Linked DNA regions of Homo sapiens: all the other regions are linked to region 3. The links are contacts of gene promoters, found by promoter capture Hi-C in blood cells and fetal thymus (Javierre and others, 2016). All regions are on one chromosome and are shown on one strand. Each heading gives the region's core, a stretch centred on a gene start or on the middle of the fragment in contact. The rest is flanking DNA. Distances are from core to core; before and after follow the strand shown.

Region 1 (3,139 bases), core at 179-2,678, 200 kb before region 3:
CTAACACAGAGTAACTTGAGGTTTTGAGGGCAACTTCCTGAGAAACTTTTGGAAAATGAATACAAATTAAAAAGTTGATATTTATTTCTCCTCTGTAACTGCAATCAGAACAACATTGTGACTTTCAAATGCTATTGAAAGCAGAGAATGTAACAGCCATCTAAAATAGGGGCACATGAGTTTTCAGCTGCTGGACTAGCCTTCAGTCCACCCTTCCCCCTCCATTGCATTACCTTATTGACATCACCGTGTACTTCTTCTCTAGTTATCAAAACTGCGGAGCATCCACCAAAAAGAACAGTTCTGTCATTTAAAATGGAACAGATGAAAGTTTTCCATGATGCAAGAGTGGGATTTTAAAGATAATCGTGTTTCTGCTCTTCTCTAATTAGGACTGGACTTTAGTTTGTATTCTGCAAATGATTTATGATCTCCTGGCTAGAAGAATGAAAAAGACTCATAGTTTTAGATGTGTTGCCTTTGGCCTACTATAGGTCTCTCTGCAAGTAACTGTGCTTACATAGAAATAAAGAACACATGTGGTATGTGGTTGGGTCAGCATTTGCACCTTGCAGCTTGTCCTCAGAGCCCGTGCTATACCCATCATGTTGTGCAGTCAACCCTCTCAAGTAGTCCCGGATGTGGAGACAGAGAGGACAATTAGCGCAGACTTCTCTACAATTAGGAAGAATTTGATTTGGTGAGGCCCTTCTGAGGCTCTATTTGGACAAATATGCTTGACTGGCTCTCAACTGTGGGGGATGAAGAATTATCTCATGACCAAACGAGAGGCAAGAGAGTAGTGGCCAAGGATATGGAGTCTGGTCCATTTCACCTGGCTTCTTAGCTATTTTACTTGGATTTGGAGTGTTGGTTACTTCATCTATAAAATGATATTTTGTATCCACCTCATAGGGCAGTTTTAAGAATGAAATGAAATAATATATGTAAAGCACTTGTCACATAGTGAGTAGTTCTCAACATATAGTGATTATATTATTATTATGATTGTTATTATGAATTTGGAACCCAGATTATATACTGTTTTACTATGATAAATCCTAATTTACCCCGATACACTCCCCAAATCTATCTCTTCATGTAGGCATTTAACATTAATAAGCCCTTCCGAAGGCTATAGCTTTAAACTATGGTTTAGTTCTAAATCTTCTGTCTTTGTTTAACAGCAAAATAAATGGGAATCAGCTCCCCACTGAAAACTTCCTCAAGATTAACAGAAACAGTAAAAAAAGAAAAAAAAAATCCTTAGAGCTTTCAAGCTCCTTCGATATTCACTATTGTGAATATTGTTACCAAGTAATGTCCTAATAGTGTCTCCCCTTGGTATACTCTTTGTATGCTAAGGTCCCAGTGCACCTAGGCTATATGATGGTCCACATAATTGTCCCATGCCTATGTCCCCTGGTCACGTGTTGTTCTTGTTTCCCATCTACCTAGAAAATCACCCCCTTTCTCAACCTATTAAAAAGTTAGTCCATCTTACATGTTTATATTTCACAAGGCCTTTTCTTATCTTCTTAAATAAATGTGATTCTCCCTCTGATCTCTGAACTTACAGTGCTTCTTTGTACCTATCCTACTGCAATCACTTACTACCTTGTATTATGATTGTGAACCTGTCTGAGCCTTCCTTGCTATGATAAAGATGTAGGAACTGATATTACATCTGGACATTCCTTGTCGCAGCTTTCATTGTGCCTTGCACAGAGTAGTCATTTTAAAATTATGCAGATAATTTAATGTAGAAAAATTTGGGAAGAATAATATTTTCAGTTCAGTCCCCTTAGCCTCTGGCTCTGTCCCTCAGCTCAGCCGTATTCTGGTTGGACACTTTGTTCTCTGATTTTACATTAAACATTGTCTAAGTAAACTATGCATTGCAGAGATCATCTTTGAAAAATGATATTCAATGGGAAACATACTCCCATTTGTTTTACTGTTAAATAAAGGCAAGAGAGTTTGGAATTAAAACCCAACCTACTACAGCCTTTGGAATAGTTCTTTAATTGACCGTTACATATGTACATGGGAATAAAAACTCTCTTTATTGAATTGAGGAATATACCACCAAACAATGCTTGCTTTCCCAGATACCAAGGAAATAAGCATGCTTTCAGTGAATCAAAATCTTCTGCACTAACTCTTTCCTTCTGCAGGAGATCCTGTTGTTTGAGAGGAGGCAGAACACCCAAAATTCATTGCTCAGAACACACATACACCCACACACCAAATTTTACTTTTAAAAAGTTGTCAATTCATAGACATTATAGAAATTGGCAAGTTGGACCCAAGGAGAAACATTCTGATTTTCTTATGTTTAAGTATATGTCATGATAAAGATGAATGTGACTAGAAAAGCAAACACATTTTGAATCAACAGGCCATAAATACACTCTTTTATACATCATTTGGCATTGGAGTATTGCTGGTAGTATATAGTATGTGAGTATGTATTATTTAATGTGGTAAGAACCATCCTGTGGGAGAAAACAGAATGAAATAAAAGCCCCAGCTTTCTAGACTTGTTTCTGCTGAGGGGCTCTGTGACAGTGTGGCAACTGTCCAGGCTTTAAGCACTTGGCCATTGCATTTGGATTTTAAAAGAGCCCAACCCATAAATTCTGGTTGAAATTAGAGCTGGTGAAAAGAAATATACCCTAGGAGTTATTAATATGTAAATCTAGTAATCTGGGAAATTGAACGATCTCAGATTAGGGTTTCTGAATTTATGCAATCTAATTTTGACTGAAATGACACAACACTTCAACAGTTCTGTATAAATTTGACAGCAAATTGCATAATGTTTCTTTAAAATTAGTACAGAGAAAGAATGCTTCAGCAGAGTATAAGGCAAGAACACACATAGCTACAATGCATCACACCAATGTTCCATGTACTCTGAACTCTCATTTCCAAAACAGCCAATGCCATATGGTATGGTAAATTACAAAATCCAATAGTAAAGGGGTTCATGCCTTTATGAATGGGGCCAAATGGTTCCTTTAGTTTATCTTCGTCAGACTTAGAATGTTTTATCTCAGTTCTGGTACAAAGAACCAATTTTTCTTATCTCTGCCAATAGTACTGCCATTTAGAAGGATAGCACTGATAGCTGGAA
Region 2 (3,568 bases), core at 220-2,719, 130 kb before region 3:
TTACTCCCTGGATTTTCCTTTTACCTCTGGGAGGCTGCTTCTCAGTCCTTTTTATAATGCCATCCTCCTCCACCAGACCTAGATGTGTGTAATTCCTCAAGGGTTAACCCTAGGTCCCTTATTTCCTCTCTCTGGGACATTTATGCCAAGAGTTTCAAATGACACTATAAACAAATGACTTGCAAATAGACAACTCTAGTCCCAGGCCTCCTCTCTCCCCACCCCAGGACTCCAGATTCATACTTGCAACTGCCTTCTTGACATCTCAAGTAACTGTCAAAAGTGCCTTACAATCAATGCATCCATAACCAAATTCTTGATTGTTCTCCCTGAACGAATTTATTCTTTCATCCCCGAACAAAGAGAACTGTGAGAAAGCCAAGAGTGAGTGATGAAAAGAGTAGTTGGAAAGGAGCTGGGAGAAGTGGCCCAGCACCTGATCATGTCTAGCCTTGGAGGTCATGGCAAGGACTTCGGATGTTACCTTGAGATGCAAAGCGATTTGAAACTTTTGAATAGGGAAATAACGATATTTGTGTTTGAAAGGGTTCCTTCGTCAATAGTGTGGGTGAGAGTGGAGAAGAGAAGCCAGTAGAAAATCTATCACAGAAGCTTAGGTAATAGATAACAGAGGCTTGAAAGAAAGTGGTAGAAATGGAAGTGATTAGGTGTGGTCAGATTCTGATACCTTTTCAAGGTAAAGTAAGCAATATTTGTTGATGGGTTAGATGTAGAGTATGAGATAAAGAGAAAACTCCAAGACAGCTCATGAGATTTTTGTTATCAGTCTCTAGTGAGGGAAACTTAGAGAGAAGGACACATTGGGGAAGGAACTGGAATCAAGAGTTGAGTTTAAAATCTGCTGATTTCAGATGCTTATTAGACATCAGGTGAAGATGCTGAGTGGGCATTGGCATTTACAAGTTAAGTTCAGAGTAGAGGTGAGACCAGCAGATATAAATTTGGGAGACATCAGCATATATAGATGATAATTAAAAACATGTAGGAGTCAATGTAGATTGGAGATGAGAAGAGATACACACACTAAGCAAAGAAAATTGGTACAAAATGGGCTTCCTCTATTTTTGTGGCAGCCACCTCTGATTAGTATTTATTTAAAACAAAGAAAACATACCTTCAGGTAGGGGGTTGGTCAATTTTCTTTCATAGCCTTACAATTTAGTCCCCACTTCTTCATATTAGAGGCTTTAGAAAGAGTCTCTTAATATAAGCTGGACCCTTCACAATATTGAGAATCCAAGTCAAGAGAAGCTATGCCACTCCTGGCTTTGAGTTGGATGGGGGTCATGCATTTCTCTTCTCCTAGCTCCGATAGGGAGTTTAAGAAAGCTATTGATCCACACCAAAAGGAAAAGTTCTCCAAGGTTGGTGGTTCTTATCTCCCCCATGGCCTGCCCTCATGTCAGCTCTCATCCCTCCTAATCTAGATATTTCAATGAGTACCTAATTGGTTTTGCCAAAATATATTTCATTACTTTCAGTCACAATTCATTATTCTCTTAAGAAGATCAGTAATATTTTATTCCATTTGGTCCCATCTTTGCTATATTTAGCCATATTTAATTTAGGTATGTGGTTTTCATTTAGATATGTGGTTTATTAATCTTGTTCCCTGGTGTCAGACACAGTTAAGTTCCTTAATAGATACAACCAGCCTGTGAAAAAACAGGCATATGGATGTTAAGTAAATTTCATCAAGATCACATAGCTAATAAGTGAGACCTTGTTAGACTTTGCTTTCCACAGAGTCACAGAAAGTGATTAATTTCTAAAAGATATAATATTCTTATTCTTATGTTTCAGATATTTTTTGTTGATGTGACAGAATTTTTAGTTTTTTAGAATAAAAGTGCAAAAAAATCCAAGATATCATCATCATCACCATCAACAATGTTATAGGATTACTTTAAAATATTCACAACCATGTTTCAAAGATGCTTAGATTTTATAGATAACTTATTGGCACATGTGTATGTGATCTGTGAGTTTTGAATTCTGTAGAAATATAAACATTTTACCTTAGTAAATACCTGTTTGAGGAAACAAAAGGGTCTTCACTTCATAAAGTTTAAATTCATAAGCATAGTATATAAGCTCTCCATGAGCTGAATCCTACCTAAATCTTCAGCATTCTCTTTGCTGGTCTCATGCTGATGCCCTGCTCACCAATGTATTTAGTTACTCACATTCTTTAAACATAACCAGGCTCTTTTCTCTCTCTATGCCTTTATTTGTATGTTCCCCACTTCTTGGAATGCTCTTGGCCTCATTGTTTCCTGTGAAAAAAAAAATTCTACTCCTCTTCCAAAGCTTAGTTCAAGCATCATCTGCTTATGAAGTCTTTCCAGTCATTATTACTCCTGCTTGTACCCTGTAAATGCCCAAAATGTAACAATCATTACATTTTACGCCATTCATTTCTTTACATTTGTTTCTCTCCCATTCAATTTTGAGCTGATTCAGGGCTGAGATACCATGTCTGATTAATATTAGTGCCCCACAGCATTTCAGTAACATAGATGTGCTTAATAAGATTTTGTTATATTCAGTGGTAATAGTCAAATTTTTGAATATCTTGTTCAATACTGAGCAAGAAATGACCAATCTGAAATGATCAATTGAACATCTAAAGGGAAACCTTACTGGGTCATATTTCAGCCCTTCAGATTTCAGCCCTTCACATTTCACTTTATTTCCATTATATGCCTTCTTTCTTTATAATTTTGATCTCTGTGGATCTGGTGAAATAATATATAATCAATGATTTTATAGTTAAATACATAGTTCTTTTCAAAACATATTTTTAAAAAACAGTGCTGGTCTACACTCTCTTACCTGTCCTTTATAACATGTCAAATTCCATGACAAAATCTTACCAGATATTTATATTAACACATCTTCCAAATTATTTAAAAGATCATTGCTTTTTCAATTTCTAAAGTGAGAGTTTTGGCACTCTTCCTGTACTTCTTATAGGGAAGTGCTTTTTTCTTGCCTCTGACACAGCTGAGATCAATGAAATTATAAGCCTTTTATTGAAAGATTATTTATACAGAAGTCAGAACTATCTTAGCCCTTGACAATGTTAAATAAAAATCCACTAACTGACAGTTGATATTCCACATTATGCAAGGTGAGAAACCAGCCTGTAAGACCAAAGCAACTGTGCATGCAGGTAGGAAAAGAGTTAAAGTATGCAAAGAAGGTGCTCTTTTTTGGCCTCCTAGATTTAGAGATGTTCTTCTACTGAACGCACTTAACTAAACAAGAGTTAAGCTGAAACTCAAGTGAGTAAATGTATGATGATATTTTCTGTGAATCCCCAAAGAAAAGTATACAGACATATGTTTTAGCCATTATGTTATAAGATAGTGCCTTTTAGAATTTCAGCGTGTGGGACCACAAATCATCTGAAATGTTAGTTAATCTTGAGAAAGTATTTACAACAATCCAATGCCCCCTAGAATAAAAGAGAGCATTTAATGTGGCAGACCATGATGGAGGGGAGGCAATAAAAGAGAAAGCACAGCTTGAAGTGCAGTATAAC
Region 3 (3,608 bases), core at 336-2,835:
GCTTCCAAAATTAGGTTTTCTGTGTTCAGTCTTGCATTCACACTTCTGAAACCCAGAGCTGACCGAGACAAATTCTTCAACTTCCTGTCAGTCCCAACATAGATTTAAAATTCCTAACCTGGCTCATGAGGTTCACCATGTATTCCTGCTTCCCTAAGTCAGCCTCATATCACACCAACCTGTGTGTGGAGTGGCTAAATACTCTAGCCAGGCAAGCTCTCTCAGTTCTTCTACCTGGCTCCTCTGGAGCCCTCCTTATTGCTCATCCCATTCTTAGCCTGATTCAAGATTCCTGGTCCTTCAAATCTCTCTTTAAGTGTCCTTACCTGGATCTTTCTCTAGTTAGTACAAATTTTTCTATCTACCATTGGAGCGAACATTTTTTGAAACTTTGTATCAGTCCTGCCTTACTCTTGGTGGAATCCTGTGGTCCTAGTCAAGTGCCTGCTCCATGAATGTGCTGAATAAATGAATAAGCATTTTAATTGTGTATCTGTCATTAGTGTCAGATGTGTTATTTATTCCAGCATGGTTTTAGCACACAGACACACTCTTTGATGCAGACTTTTCTTTTCTTTTTACATATAGCAACAATAAAAAACTAGACTTTCATCTCCTGAAAATATCAGTCTAATAATCACCTATGGCTGTCTCTCTGGTTGCTGAAGGAAAAAAAAAAAAAAGGCAGGGCACACCTGGATTGCATTAGAATGAGACTCACTACCCAGTTCAGGTGTGTTGCGTTGTGGGTCTCCGGCACATTTCAGAGGCTCATTAGGACCCTGACCCCACACTGGGGTTTACACCCCTAAAAGCAGGTGTGTCCCGTGGCAACTGAGTGGGTGCGTGAAAAGGGGGGATCATCAATTACCAGCTGGAGCAATCCGAATCGGTTAAAGTGAATCAAGTCACAGTGCTTCCTTAACCCAACCTCTCTGTTGGGGTCAGCCACAGCCTAAACCGCCTGCCGTTCAGCCTGAGAGGCTGCTGCTAGCCTGCTCACGCATGCAGCCCGGGCTGCAGAGGAAGTGTGGGGAGGAAGGAAGTGGGTATAGAAGGGTGCTGAGATGTGGGTCTTGAAGAGAATAGCCATAACGTCTTTGTCACTAAAATGTTCCCCAGGGGCCTTCGGCGAGTCTTTTTGTTTGGTTTTTTGTTTTTAATCTGTGGCTCTTGATAATTTATCTAGTGGTTGCCTACACCTGAAAAACAAGACACAGTGTTTAACTATCAACGAAAGAACTGGACGGCTCCCCGCCGCAGTCCCACTCCCCGAGTTTGTGGCTGGCATTTGGGCCACGCCGGGCTGGGCGGTCACAGCGAGGGGCGCGCAGTTTGGGGTCACACAGCTCCGCTTCTAGGCCCCAACCACCGTTAAAAGGGGAAGCCCGTGCCCCATCAGGTCCGCTCTTGCTGAGCCCAGAGCCATCCCGCGCTCTGCGGGCTGGGAGGCCCGGGCCAGGACGCGAGTCCTGCGCAGCCGAGGTTCCCCAGCGCCCCCTGCAGCCGCGCGTAGGCAGAGACGGAGCCCGGCCCTGCGCCTCCGCACCACGCCCGGGACCCCACCCAGCGGCCCGTACCCGGAGAAGCAGCGCGAGCACCCGAAGCTCCCGGCTGGCGGCAGAAACCGGGAGTGGGGCCGGGCGAGTGCGCGGCATCCCAGGCCGGCCCGAACGCTCCGCCCGCGGTGGGCCGACTTCCCCTCCTCTTCCCTCTCTCCTTCCTTTAGCCCGCTGGCGCCGGACACGCTGCGCCTCATCTCTTGGGGCGTTCTTCCCCGTTGGCCAACCGTCGCATCCCGTGCAACTTTGGGGTAGTGGCCGTTTAGTGTTGAATGTTCCCCACCGAGAGCGCATGGCTTGGGAAGCGAGGCGCGAACCCGGCCCCCGAAGGGCCGCCGTCCGGGAGACGGTGATGCTGTTGCTGTGCCTGGGGGTCCCGACCGGCCGCCCCTACAACGTGGACACTGAGAGCGCGCTGCTTTACCAGGGCCCCCACAACACGCTGTTCGGCTACTCGGTCGTGCTGCACAGCCACGGGGCGAACCGATGGTGAGTAGAGTTGGACTGATGCGCCCTCAGCAGCTCAGAGCGGCGTGAGAATGGCGCCCTAGGGATTCCCTGCCCGATTCAAACTTTCCTCCCTCCCAAGGAGGCAGGAGGGAAACGCTGCGAGAGCCAGCTCGCTGGAAATCTGCCAGGGAAACTAACTTATCTTGGGGCGGCAGCGCCCCGGGTGCGTTATGGTGCAAGGTCTTGGAGCTTCGAGTCGGGGGTGGTGGGCGGAGGAGGAGGTGGGGAAGCTGCCCTGCTGCGGACTGCACATCTGTGGCGACAGGGAGCTCAGTGGGCAGCACAGCTCACGTCTGAGCGCACGTGCACGTGTCTCGCTTTAGGCTCCTAGTGGGTGCGCCCACTGCCAACTGGCTCGCCAACGCTTCAGTGATCAATCCCGGGGCGATTTACAGATGCAGGATCGGAAAGAATCCCGGCCAGACGTGCGAACAGCTCCAGCTGGGTGAGTTGGGTATGGGACCAGGAGTTAGTGACCTCCCGACCCCCCATGTGGACCCCACCATAGGGCAAGTCCTGGAAAGATTCACGTTGCCTGTTACTTCTGGTTTAAAGAGCATAAAGTTTTCAGTTTCAACTCCATCTCATCTTGCCTCCTTAATATAAAAGGGATTCCCTTTCTGTTAATATCGTTCTCCCTTTTCCTTATGGCAATGATTGCAGTACTCTGACAACTATGCTAGAGAAATTTCTTATGATACCTTCTCTTCATCTCTCCCCGTCTCTCCGTGTGTAAAGCACATTTTAGACTCTCTCAGCGTATTAAGGACAGGATCCAGCTAAGCCAAGACTTGAGAATTTTATTTCCATCTTTGACCTATCAACCCTCTTAAAGAACAGGCTAAGGAGCATATCAGGAATAGCAATTGGAATTGATCCCATATCCCGTCGTTTAACCTAAAGGCCTAAAAAAAAAAGTGATAGTTTTACTTACAATATACAATCTAAAAGAAAAGGAAAATTGGCATCTTCATCGTTAATGTAGTATAATTTTCCATTCCCAAAACCGTCATCCAAAACTCATGTTATATGGGTCCATCTTTTTGCAGTCATTTCTCAATGTCTCAGATTTGTGACAAGTTGAAAAATGTGTACTGATAGAGGGGAGAAGTTTCATGTTTCAAAGCCAAAGACAAGTTTGTTGCACACAGGCAAGTGGGGAAAGAGGAAGGAATATTAAATAACAAGACCTATCTTGTTCCAAAGTGTTACTGCTATATATATTGCTTAACTTTTTTCCCCTTAAAGCAACCCTGGGTCATGGTTGACATTGTTCCTAGTTTATGTATGAGGACTGTGGCTCAGAGTTGCAAATACCTTTTTAAAAGTTACTTAGCTAGTGACTGATAGGTGGGAACTAAAGTCAAACTAGGGTCTGAATGCGTCCAAAGTCTAAGCCATTTTCTTCCATGTATGTATCTTCAATGCAAATAAAATTAAGTGAATGGTTTAATATGTTGTCTGCTGAGCTGATGGGTCATCTGTAAACGGTGAATAAAATTGGTACTTCTTTATATTTCTTTGCTATAAATGGAC
Region 4 (3,243 bases), core at 310-2,809, 240 kb before region 3:
TACTATTCAATCTAGAAATCCCATTACTGGGTATATACCCAAAGGAATATACATCATTCTACAAAAAGGCATGCATAGGTATGTTCATTGCAGGATTATTCACAATAGCAAATATATAGAATTAACCTAGATATCTGTCAACAGTGGACTGGATAATAAAGACGTGGTATATATATACCATAGAACACCTCCCAGCCATAAAAAAGAATGAAATCATGTGCTTTGTAGCATCATGGATGGAACTGGAGGCCATTATCCTAAGCAAATTAACACAGGAGCAGAAAACTAAATACTGCACTTTTCACTTATAAGTGAGAGCTAAATATGGTGTACACATGGACACAAAGAGGGGAACAATAGACACTGGGGCCTACTTGAGGGAGGAGGGTGGGGGAAGGGTGAGGGTCAAAAAACTACCTATCAGATACTATGTTAGTGAGCATAGTACCTGGGTGATTAGATTGTCTGTACACCAGACCCCAGTGACATGCAACCTACCCATCTAACAAATATTCACATGTACCCCTTGAACTGAAATAAAATTGGAAAAAAATATGAATAATAATATTTTATTTTAAAAATTATTTAAAAAACTACTGTCTACAGGTAATGTTGGTGTGGGATTGGGCATTGTATAAGAAAGTAGGATGTAGAGGAAACTGTTGAACAACTCCAGGCTGCCTGCCTTGCTTTAAAGACACTCAAATTCAGTACAAAACAAACATCCAAACAAAAAGTAAAAAGCAAAAAGAACACTTATGCTAGCTAACCAAAATATTTCCAAGGGCAAGATTTAGTTGTTTTGCTGTTTCTTCTTCACTGTACCTTACTCTACCCTAAATGGTTTTTTCAAAATATTCACCCAAGAAATATGAGGCTCTTTCAGAGCAGGAATTCTAGGGTAAGAAAATATATTTTTTTCTGTGCAGTGTTTGAATGTGCTCATTTATTTCAGATGTAATGACATTAGGGTGACAAGTATTGGTTTTTACATGTACGCTTGAACTTCATTTGTATTATGTAGAAAATACTTTGAGTAACAGGTTCTTCAGGAGTCAAGAATCTGTGTTATATTTACAAGTATTTTGAATTCCCTTTATATATTTTGAGTCTTCCTCTTGCTTCCCTCCTTAGAATGTGGTGCTATAAAATATTTTCCTCCTCAGATCATTCTAAGGAGGAAAATATTTTAACAGCAGTGCATAATGACATGTAGACGTGATGAGAGTCATACTTCACGTGTGATCTTTAGGGCTTATAGGTAGGAAAACTGGTTCATCCATGTGAAATCACAACAGTTTAATTTCAGCCTAAATCAGAAAACCAACTCTCAATTAACAGCCTGCATCCTGATTCTCCACTTACTCTGCTATGTGGTTTTAGGTGACAATTTTGTTTTCTAATCTAAGACTCTGGATGAAGTGCTGACCCATTCTAAGCTGATGCAGAGGCTTAAATTAAAATGAGATACAAGTAGAGATTGGCAGGGACCTGGCATTTTGGCAATTTTCTCATTTTGATAATTTTAACATTGCCCTTGTTTGAATCACTTCAGGGCCAAAATACATCTATTTCACATTTATGCAAAACAAAGCAATGAAATCTTGGTGGGAAGGGGCACAATTATCTTGTTCTATTTTTTTTCTCAATTATTAGATTTTCAGTCATGGATTTTGTAGCATCTCTGTGTGTGGTATTTTCAAAGAATAATGTAACTGAATAGACTATTAATGCATTTAAAGCTAAACATTGATGATGTGTAATGAACAACCTGCTAAATGTTAATACAATTTATCCTTTTTAAAATTTATAAACATGACATATTGCATGCACTTAGTGCTAATCTATTTTAGACATTCATTTGGGTTGACCTATGACCATAATATATTATGTTCCTTGAGATATTTATCTTGTCATTTGGAAACGAGATTACAATTAATGGGACACACATGACTTTAAATTACTACTTCAACTAGAGATGTGTGAGTAATGAATTAGCCATAGCTTTGAACCCCTCTGCTTATAATTTAAATTACCAGCCTTTAGCTGGTACTTGATTGTGATCCATTAAATAAGTCACAGAATCAAAGAACCACATATTGTTTTTGTTGCTAGCTCTATCAGGGATATTTTCCCATTTAATTTACCTAACCCCAGGCTAATTTATCCAAATTCATATATTAAAAATAAACATGAGAGAGAGCACTTATGCATTTTGGTTAACAGTAAAATAAAATCATAGCCAGAGTCTATCCAAACTAGATGTACAAAAATTATCCTTTTTCTGCTGAACTTTTAAGGAGCAAACAAAAAAATGATATTGGAGAAAGTGAGCTCATATGAGAGACTTCATCTGCAAAGCATTTTGCAGTAGAGGACTTCTGCTATAGTTTGAATATTTGTCCCCTCCAAAACTCATGTTTAAACTTAATCCCCAATGTTGCAGTAATGAGAGGTGGGAGTTTTTAAGAAGTAATTGGACCATGAAGACTCAGGCCTCATGAATAGATTAATCCATTCATGGACTAATGTTAGCACACTTTGCCTCCTGGCCATGTGATGTCCTGTGCCATTTCAGGACTTTGCAGAGTCCTCACCAGCAAGAAGATTCTTCACCAGATGTGGCCCCCTTGACTTTGGACTTCTCAATCTCCATAACTGTAAAATGTAAATTCCTTTTCTTTGTAAATTTCAGGTATTCTGTTATAAGCAACAAAAAATGAACTAATATAGCCCCTTAATAAAAAGTTTAATTTCTTATATTTTATATACTCCTTTCTCAACACTGACTTTGCTAGACTATACATTCTGGGAAGCACAGAATAGAAACAATAAATATTTATTAAGTGATGTCTGATAATAAATGATAACCATAGTAATAGATCCCTAAAAATCCTGAGTAATGGCAGATTAAATAATGCTCAGTAGCCTCCATTTGGTATGACTGGACGGATATATTTTTATTGTGTGTATTTAAGGTATACAGCATGTTTTGATATATATAATGAAATGATTACTATGGTCAAGCAAATTAACATATCAATTTCCTCACATAATTACTATTTTTGTGATAAGAGGACCTAAAATCTATGATCTTAGCAAATTTCTGGTGTACAATGCAATATTATTAACTATGGTCATCATACCATACATTAGATCTTTTGGATATGTACATATTCATTGAGCTCTTACTGTGTGCTAGGCACTGCACTAAAGTGTATTTTATGTATAAACTCATGTTTT

What was found. The method cuts DNA at HindIII sites, captures the fragments that hold promoters and counts their contacts. A CHiCAGO score of 5 or more calls a contact.
Region 1: a contact is called between a fragment that was not itself captured here and the fragment with the promoter of ITGA4 in region 3, in 14 of 17 cell types (total CD4 T cells, total CD8 T cells, naive CD8 T cells and 11 more). The highest score is 14.4, in total CD4 T cells.
Region 2: a fragment that was not itself captured here is called in contact with the fragment with the promoter of ITGA4 in region 3 in 10 of 17 cell types (naive CD8 T cells, total CD8 T cells, erythroblasts and 7 more); the score reaches 14.9 in naive CD8 T cells.
Region 4: a fragment that was not itself captured here is called in contact with the fragment with the promoter of ITGA4 in region 3 in 7 of 17 cell types (naive CD8 T cells, total CD8 T cells, total CD4 T cells and 4 more); the score reaches 11.4 in naive CD8 T cells.

Annotation. Positions count from the first base shown.
Region 1 is chr2:181,253,060-181,256,198 of GRCh38, forward strand. The region is part of intron 2 of LINC01934 (long intergenic non-protein coding RNA 1934); the gene reads left to right. Among named protein-coding and RNA genes, the nearest start is that of MIR4437, 51 kb to the right of the region's middle. The HindIII fragment of the contact is 6,744 bases long and covers 1-3,139 here.
Region 2 is chr2:181,323,272-181,326,839 of GRCh38, forward strand. The region is part of intron 3 of LINC01934 (long intergenic non-protein coding RNA 1934); the gene reads left to right. Among named protein-coding and RNA genes, the nearest start is that of MIR4437, 19 kb to the left of the region's middle. The HindIII fragment of the contact is 1,719 bases long and covers 611-2,329 here.
Region 3 is chr2:181,455,801-181,459,408 of GRCh38, forward strand. ITGA4 (integrin subunit alpha 4) reads left to right here and starts at 1,586. Exons shown (of 28, transcript NM_000885.6): 1 at 1,586-2,051; 2 at 2,396-2,517. The coding sequence starts at 1,855. RefSeq lists enhancers at 1,093-1,202, 1,923-2,112, 2,173-2,222, 2,583-2,632 and a silencer at 1,383-1,772. The HindIII fragment of the contact is 9,740 bases long and covers 1-3,608 here.
Region 4 is chr2:181,212,707-181,215,949 of GRCh38, forward strand. All of the region lies in intron 1 of LINC01934 (long intergenic non-protein coding RNA 1934), which reads left to right. Among named protein-coding and RNA genes, the nearest start is that of LINC01934, 90 kb to the left of the region's middle. The HindIII fragment of the contact is 8,503 bases long and covers 1-3,243 here.